Linked DNA regions of Homo sapiens: region 1 is linked to region 2. The links are contacts of gene promoters, found by promoter capture Hi-C in human tissues and cell types (Jung and others, 2019). All regions are on one chromosome and are shown on one strand. The core of a region is centred on a gene start or on the middle of the fragment in contact, and the rest is flanking DNA. Distances in the headings are between cores, read along the strand shown. Region 1 holds the start of GPR37L1 (G protein-coupled receptor 37 like 1). Region 2 holds the start of IPO9 (importin 9).

What was found. The method cuts DNA at HindIII sites, captures the fragments that hold promoters and counts their contacts. A contact is called where the count stands out against the background at its distance.
Region 1: a contact is called between the fragment with the promoter of GPR37L1 here and the fragment with the promoter of IPO9 in region 2, in 2 of the 25 tissues and cell types used here (IMR-90 fibroblasts and heart left ventricle).

What each region holds. Positions count from the first base shown.
Region 1 is chr1:202,121,512-202,125,389 of GRCh38, reverse strand. GPR37L1 (G protein-coupled receptor 37 like 1) reads right to left here and starts at 2,473. Exons shown (of 2, transcript NM_004767.5): 1 at 1,797-2,473. The coding sequence starts at 2,426. It overlaps LOC105371683 (a long non-coding RNA gene), which reads left to right. Exons shown (of 3, transcript XR_922422.3): 2 at 1,332-1,439; 3 at 1,657-1,803. The HindIII fragment of the contact is 29,285 bases long and covers 1-3,878 here.
Region 2 is chr1:201,827,160-201,830,589 of GRCh38, reverse strand. IPO9 (importin 9) reads right to left here and starts at 1,433. Exons shown (of 24, transcript NM_018085.5): 1 at 1,218-1,433. The coding sequence starts at 1,380. IPO9-AS1 (IPO9 antisense RNA 1) reads left to right here and starts at 1,031. Exons shown (of 3, transcript NR_046696.1): 1 at 1,031-1,639. RefSeq lists enhancers at 1,134-1,343, 1,355-1,649, 1,806-2,319, 2,320-2,834 and a silencer at 1,394-1,633. The HindIII fragment of the contact is 5,409 bases long and covers 1-3,430 here.

The DNA of each region.
Region 1 (3,878 bases), core at 1,224-3,723, 290 kb before region 2:
TATTATTATTATCCCCAATTTACCAATGAGGAAATTGAGATTTAGGTAGTTAAAGTAATCTACCAAATCACACAGCTAGTGATGGGAAAAGCCCAGTTTCTAATCTAGTCTGCTCAATTTCAGAGTCCTGTGTCTAAGCATGCACAGCTCACCTGGGTCGTGAGCACAAGATGATAACTAAGAATGCAAAGCCTCTCTCCAGTTGCAGGGTCTTTTTTTTTTTTTTTTTTTTTTTTGAGACAGAATTTCACTCTGTCACCCAGGCTGCGCAATCTTGGCTCACTGCAACCTCTGCCTGCCAAGTTCAAGCGATTCTCCTGCCTCAGCCTCCTGAGTACCTGGGACTGCAGGTGCGTGCCACCACACCCGGCTAATTTTTTATTTTTAGTAGAGATGGGGCTTCACCATGTTGGCCAGGCTGGTCTCGAACTCCTGACCTCAAGTGATCCACCTGCCTCGGCCTCCCAAAGTGCTGGGATTATAGGCATGAGCCACTGTGCCTGGCACAGGGTCTTCTTTCAGGGTGGAGTAACTTTGTACCACTGTTAGTCAGTCTCCCTGGGTTGGGAAGGACAGGAAAGGACTGTACCCACTGCTGAGACACAGGGAGTCTGTCCAACTATGACATCATCATTGTTACATGGTGAGGTGGGGACAGACCTTGGAATAGGACCTGTGTCCGTAATGCTGATCCTGAGCCCTTCTCCGGCCAGGCAAGTCCCCCTTGTCATGCAGCATCATTCACGAAGGAACAGCAGCTTCACAGGGAGACCACAGTCACTCCATTACACTCCATGCAGCCAAAATTTGAAAGACTGTTTGCTTATTTTGTCTTACAGAGAGAGAGAGGGTGGCCTTGCTGTGTCTTGCATAAATGCACACATCAGTATGTTTCTGCAGTGTTTTAAGTTGTCTCTCTATGCTCTACATATCCTTTGACACCCATGGACTTATCGTAGACGCTACCAGAAGTAAGGGCATAGTGGTATACTTTAGAACTGTGAAACAGGCCAGCTGGAAGGACCATCTGGTCTACCCGCCCTGGTTGGGAGATAAAGAAATTGGAGAGGTAATGCAACCTGCCCAGTGACGCCCAGTATGTCAGTGGCAGAGCTAAGACTAGAGCCCCCCATTAGTTCCAGTGCCCAGAACCAGGTATCCCTTTCAGAGAGGATCTAGGAAGTTGCTGATGGAAATGACAACGATAACAATGAGAATCCCAGCAGGGAGGGAAGAACGGAGCGGTCTTTTGCTTCTGGTGCTTGTATTCTCATGGAGTGGATGCTGACTTGATCCAGAGGGGTGTGAAGGAAATTGGGCTCTCCCTTCAGGCACTCCTTCAGGAGGCAGGAGACGGAGGAGCAGCGAAGGAAGCTGTGGGAGCAGGGCAGCGGCAGGGGGTACAGAGGAAAGAAGAGGAGTCACAACAAAGGACAGAGGTATCTTGGGTGGGACAGGGGAGAAGGGCTGAGGAAGGGAGAGGGCAGCTTAGGGTCTGGAGAAAGTGGCAAAGGCCTGCCTTGAGGTTGCTCCCGAAGCAGAAGATCAGGCTGGGGCTGGAACCCAGGGGCCCCACACACCCGCCTGTCCCCCTGGCCTGCCTACTTCTCTTGAGAGCAACCAGAAACCAATACCGTATTTGTCTCCTTCTCCAAGGTAAAGGAGGAGCAAGTCAGAGCTCCAAGACTCAGGTTTTGCACACCCACAAATTCCATTTCCAAAGACCTGATGGAGACTTTGAGTCCCTTCCCTGGATTGCAGCCTCCCAGCAGAGCTCAAACAGAACACACACTCACCTCCATGAAGGGCACGGCACGACAAGAAACGTCACCCAGTAGCCTCTGCTTGGTGATCTCGTTGAAGATGACAATAGGGAGGCAGAAAAAGAGGACCAGAAAATCCCAGAGGGCCAGGCTGGCAAGGATGGAGTTCCAGGCACTCTTCAGGTAGTAGCTGTGCCACACGATGCACATGACCGACAGGTTGCCCACAATGCCCACCGCAAACACCACCAGCGCCAGAAGCATGATGGCATAGGCACTGTAGGAGCTCTCGGTCACCGGATACAGGGGGTTCTGGATCTGTAGCCTCTGCCCTGGTGCTCCTGTCAGATTGCCCCTCAGTTCCTGCCCACTGTCTGGGGTGCCCCCATCCTTGCCGGGGTTAGGGCTGGTGGCCACCAAGGGCTTGGTTGGCTGCAGGCCAGCAGGGTGAATGGGCCGGGGGTACTCCGCCCACTCCTCAGGCACATACTGCTGCACGCCCTTGGCCTCCTCATCCTCGGTGCCCCTCTTGGATCGGCTCTGCTGCTCCTGGGTCTCGGCTCTGTGCCTGCCCAGGTGCAGGGGGGCACCCCCAGAGACCCTGCTTAGCCCCACAGCCAAAATCACAGCAAGAGAGACAGCCAGGGGCCACAGCCACCGCATGGCTGGATGAGCAGGAGACAGCCAGCCCAGGAAGAGCAGGTGAGTGCAGGGGGCCCAAGAGCTGGGCTCCAGAGAGGCAGCTGGCCGGCTGGATCCGCCTCCAGTCAGGCGTCTGGCATCACTCGCCTGCCCTCCCTCCCAGCCTCCGGCCACAGGCCGGGCAGGGCCCTCTGCTGGACACATAGCACTCTTTGCTGCCCTCACACATCTCGTCCTCCACGACGCCGCTTCTCAGGCCCTACAGCATGTCAGGCTGTGGGGCCCTAAGAGGGCATCTGCTTCAGGCCCCTGAAACTAGGGAGGAAATGTGGCCTGCCTAGGGTGACACAGGGAGGTGGGGCAGAATGGGAACTGGGGCGCAGGTCTCCTGATTCTAAGGCAGCTCCTCCATTCAAAACTCAGCAATAACCATCACTGTCACTTACTGAACACTTACTAGGTGCTAGCACTCAGCTGGTTTCTCAATTAACCCTTGATTAATCTCAGATCACAAATCTGAGGTTTGTAGAGGTCAGTCACTTGCCACATAGTTGATACAAGGCAGAGCAAGGCCCACAACCCAGATCTGACTCCAGAGATTTCTAATTTTTTTTTTTTTTTCGGTTGCCCAGGCTGGAGTGCAATGGCGCGGTCTTGGCTCACTGCAGCCTCCGCCTCCTGGGTTCAAGTGATTCTCCTGCCTCAGCCCCCTGAGTAACTGGGATTACAGTTACTGTAGTGCCCGCCACCATACCCGGCTAATTTTTGTATTTTTAGTAGAGACAGGGTTTCACCGTGTTGACCAGGCTGGTCTCAAACTCCTAACCTCAGGTGATCCGCCTGCCTCAGCCTCCCAAAGTGCTGGGAGCCACCGCACCCGGCCTAAAACACCATATTCTGAGCCAGACACAAGATGTGTGGACATTTGCAATAACACGTCTTTACTGACTACGTGTTGTGTTCCAGACACTCAGAATACAAAAATGTAAAGGATCTCTGCCACCAATGAGCTTTCAGTCCAGAGAAGGAAGTAAATGTGTAAGTTCAGCATGATAGATGCTATGAAAGGCAAAGGTCATGATGCTGAGGGAACCCAAGAAAATCTGGGGGGGATCTGGAAGGCCTCCCAAGCGAGGTGACATTTGAATGGATCCCGAGAAATGGCTGTGAGCTTGCCTGACAGACTACGGGAAGGGAGGGTGCTCTAGGCAGAAGACACAGCACACACAAAGGCTGGGTGATGTGGAAGTGGGTGATGTTCCCGCAAGAGAGCAAGTCTGTCGAGGGGACTAGAGTGCAAGGGAGGTGGGGAGAGAGCATGGGCACTTGGGACAAAGAGCTTGGAAATATCAGCAGAGGAGGAACTGGACTGTAAAGGACTTTGTATGCCAAGCCAAGGAGTTTAGATTTTATCCCATAAGCAATGGAGAATATCACAGGTTGTTAAGTAGGCAAACAATGACTCAACTAAGT
Region 2 (3,430 bases), core at 184-2,683:
CCTAACCAGTGGTTTCTCCTGTATAGATCTGATATTTTATAAAACAATGACAATTACAAGTGGGCCTTCAAAATGGTCCTTAGCCTGTTAGATCCCAAATCTTAACATATTTCCAACAGAAGAAAATTTGTTTTCAACAGCTCTTTCATACTGTGAAAGAATGTAAACTAAATTTAAGAGAGATTTGTTCTAAATTCTTTTCAATAGAAATACGTCCAGTAGGAGAGCTAACTGAAGGTTTTGAATATGATGGGTGTGTGATGGGACAATTTCCCATATCTCTGATGAAGTATTTAAGTGGTGGTGGAAATATTCCTGAGTTGGGAGATTCTGAGGATTTGGAGTTCCAGTGAAGCTCTGACCAGATATATTTCTTACACAAAGACCAAGAAGATTTCTCCTCCTGTTTCTGGATTAAATTGTTCTTTGTGGTAGCTACACTGGACCCGGTGAAAGGCTCACGCGGCAGGAAATTGATAGAAAATCTCGAACCAATGGTTTATTTTCTTCTCCATCACTTTAAAGCACACAATAGAGGACGGAGACAAAGAATCAAAAACAAAGGATGATCAGTTCCTCCAAACAGAAATGCACAAAGGTATTTAATAAGGGCAAATTATTTTTAAAATAAACGTTAAGTATGGTCAGGACAGTGAAGCAATCGCATATGCATTTAATTTCTGGGAAAACACGAAGAGTACAAACAACTAGCTAGGTTTATAACTCAGAGGCAGAAACTTGTTTGATGACATCTATTAAGCTTTGATAGCCGCCTTTTCGAGGCCCTACCCTTCACCACTCCTACTAATAGCTCCCCCTACTCTTATCCCAGTACAATCCAGCTGGTGAAGAGAACAGCGAAAGACTTTGGTCCTGGACTCAAAAAATATTTCCCCGACCGCGCTACTTCCTCCAACAGCACCAAGTCTAGCTCCATCTCCGTCCCCTGCAGATTCTAGGCTCCATCTATCTTTTCAAGTCTCCACCCTCCCTCCCCCACTCCCAGGCTCCACCTCCCCCGACCCTATCCTTCAGGCGCGCCTCTCCTCTCTCGGACTTTCACAACCACCAGCGACATCAATCTCTCGCTTCCTGCTCCACTTCTCGGCGCCCACATCTCCAACTGGCTCAGGCTCCCCATGTCCCCAGCCGGTACGGAGCTGCGGTCAGCGGATTGTGCGGCTGAGCCATCCTCGTGACGGTCCCGCCTCACTCACCCTCCGTCACCTCCAGCACCTTAATCTGTTCTTCAGCAGCCGCCCGCACCTCCTGTACTGGGGATAGGATCCCGGTGAGCGTATCCACTAACGCTTCCTTTAATCCTTGTGCCACTGGACCCGGCAGCCCGGAGGCCGCACCAGCTGCCGCCGCCGCCGCCATCTTTTCTCCCCTCAGCCCGCCAGCCCCGCGGCCGGGACCCGCCACCGAATGACGGCCCCCGCGCGCGGCCAATCCGCGAAGCCGCGCCTGCGCACCAGAGGCGGGCGGGAGCGGGCGGAGGGCGGGGAATGAATCTAAGCCTCCAGAGACAGCGCCTCCTGCTGCCTGAACGAGAACTGCACCTTTCTCTGCAAGGATCTCTGGATTTGTGTGAAAACTGAGCCCCAGACAGGTTAAGGGGCTTTCCTAAAGTTGCACAGTAAGTTAGCAATCTCATTTGGAATAAAGTTCATGATATATGACTTTATATTCATGCATCTTTCAGGTGTTAGGAGAGAGGAGGCGGGATGGGAATAGATGTAGAGGGCTTTAAGGAGAGAGGTCTGGGTCACAAATAGCCCCTATTTTAAACCACATTCTTTTCCCCCCAAACACTGAAAAAAAGTTGGCTCAAGTGACTCTCTTCATCTTAGCCTCAGGAATCCAAAGAGGGGGGAAAATAAACTAAAGCAAACTGGGAAGTGGAAGTGGGAAAACCACGGCCCAGTCCCTTGGTTTTCCAGCCTAGATGAGCCCAACCTCAAAGCTGGGAAGTGGCTGGGCAGGGGAGACACCGGCATGTGAAAGGGAGTTTCTTCCAGAGTGAGTGTTGTATGTGACTATTTGAGAATGAATCCTATTTGTTGAAAATGTATAAATTTTTTTCCCTGAGAAATTATGGCTGGACATTTAAGGGGTGCGAGAACAAGAGCAGTTTGATGATATGGTTGTCAGCAGCTGGTCGTGGGAAATGGCCTACGGTGCAGAGCCGCTCCTGAATAGCGGAGCAGGTGGAGAGGATGAGCGCTCCAGTGAGGTGTTAAAAATGCAGGGTGTGGCGAGGCGCAGTGGCTCACGCCTCTAATCCTAGCACTTTGGGAGGCCGAGGCAGGAGGATCGCTTGAGCCCAGGATTTCGAGAACAGCCTGGGCAACATAGCGAGACTTCGTCTCTACAAAAAAATACAAAAATTGCCCAGGCGTGGTGGCGTACGCCCTGTAGTCCCGGCTGTTCGGGAGGTGGAGGTGGGAAGATCACTTGAGCCCAGGAGGAGGAGGCTGCAGTGAGCAGTGATTGCGCCATTGCACTCCAGCCTGGGCGACAGAGTGACATCTTGTCTCAGAAAAAGAAGAAAAAGCAAGATGTAAGCCAAGGCAGGAGGATCACTTGAGCCCAGGAGTTCCAGGCTGTAGTGTGCTGTCATCACACCTATGAATAGCTACTGCATTCCAGTCTGGGCAAGATATACAGACTCTGTCTATAAAAAAAAATAAAAATTAAAAAAAATGCAGGGCAGAGTGGCAAGCATGTAGTGGCAGAAAGGATAGAATGTTGTTGGAATGGGAGGTTCTAGAGCAAACAGAAACAGGTATTTTTTAGTGAGCTGTTCAGGTTATGTGCCTTCAAAATGGTTCCCAGGAACCCTTATCAAGTGAGTTCATTCTCACATGGCAAAGGAAACGAGTTACCAAATCCTAGGTCACTTCCAAGACTGTGGATGCTGGACTGGTAACAATCAGGGATTAAGTCATCTCATCAGAAGATTACTTCAAAAGAAAGCTTTCTCAATTATTTATTTTTGAGTTGGGGGGGTCTTGCTATGTTGCCCAGGCTGGACAGGTGATCCTCCCACCTCAGCATCCAGAGTAGCTAGAACTACAGGTACACCCACTGCAACTGGCTTGAAGAGAGTTCTCAACACACTTGTCACCTCCCATGTTAAGAGGGCAGAGATGAGTTATGTTACTACAATTTCATAGGGAAAAGATTGCTTCTTGGACCCTTCAATTTTGCAATGGGGAATAGTAAGCCTATTTACTTTCTTGAAGTGGCCAAAAGAAGTTGAACTTGATTACAACAGCTTCTAATAGGTCAGTTCACTTTTACCCCAAGAAGAAAATTTAGCAAAGTCAAGAGGGTGGTATGTTTTCAAACACTGCAGCAACCCAGATGGAGGACTCCGGAGCCTTGATGTTTGGGCTGGATGTTTTGAGATCCGGTGAAGGATTCT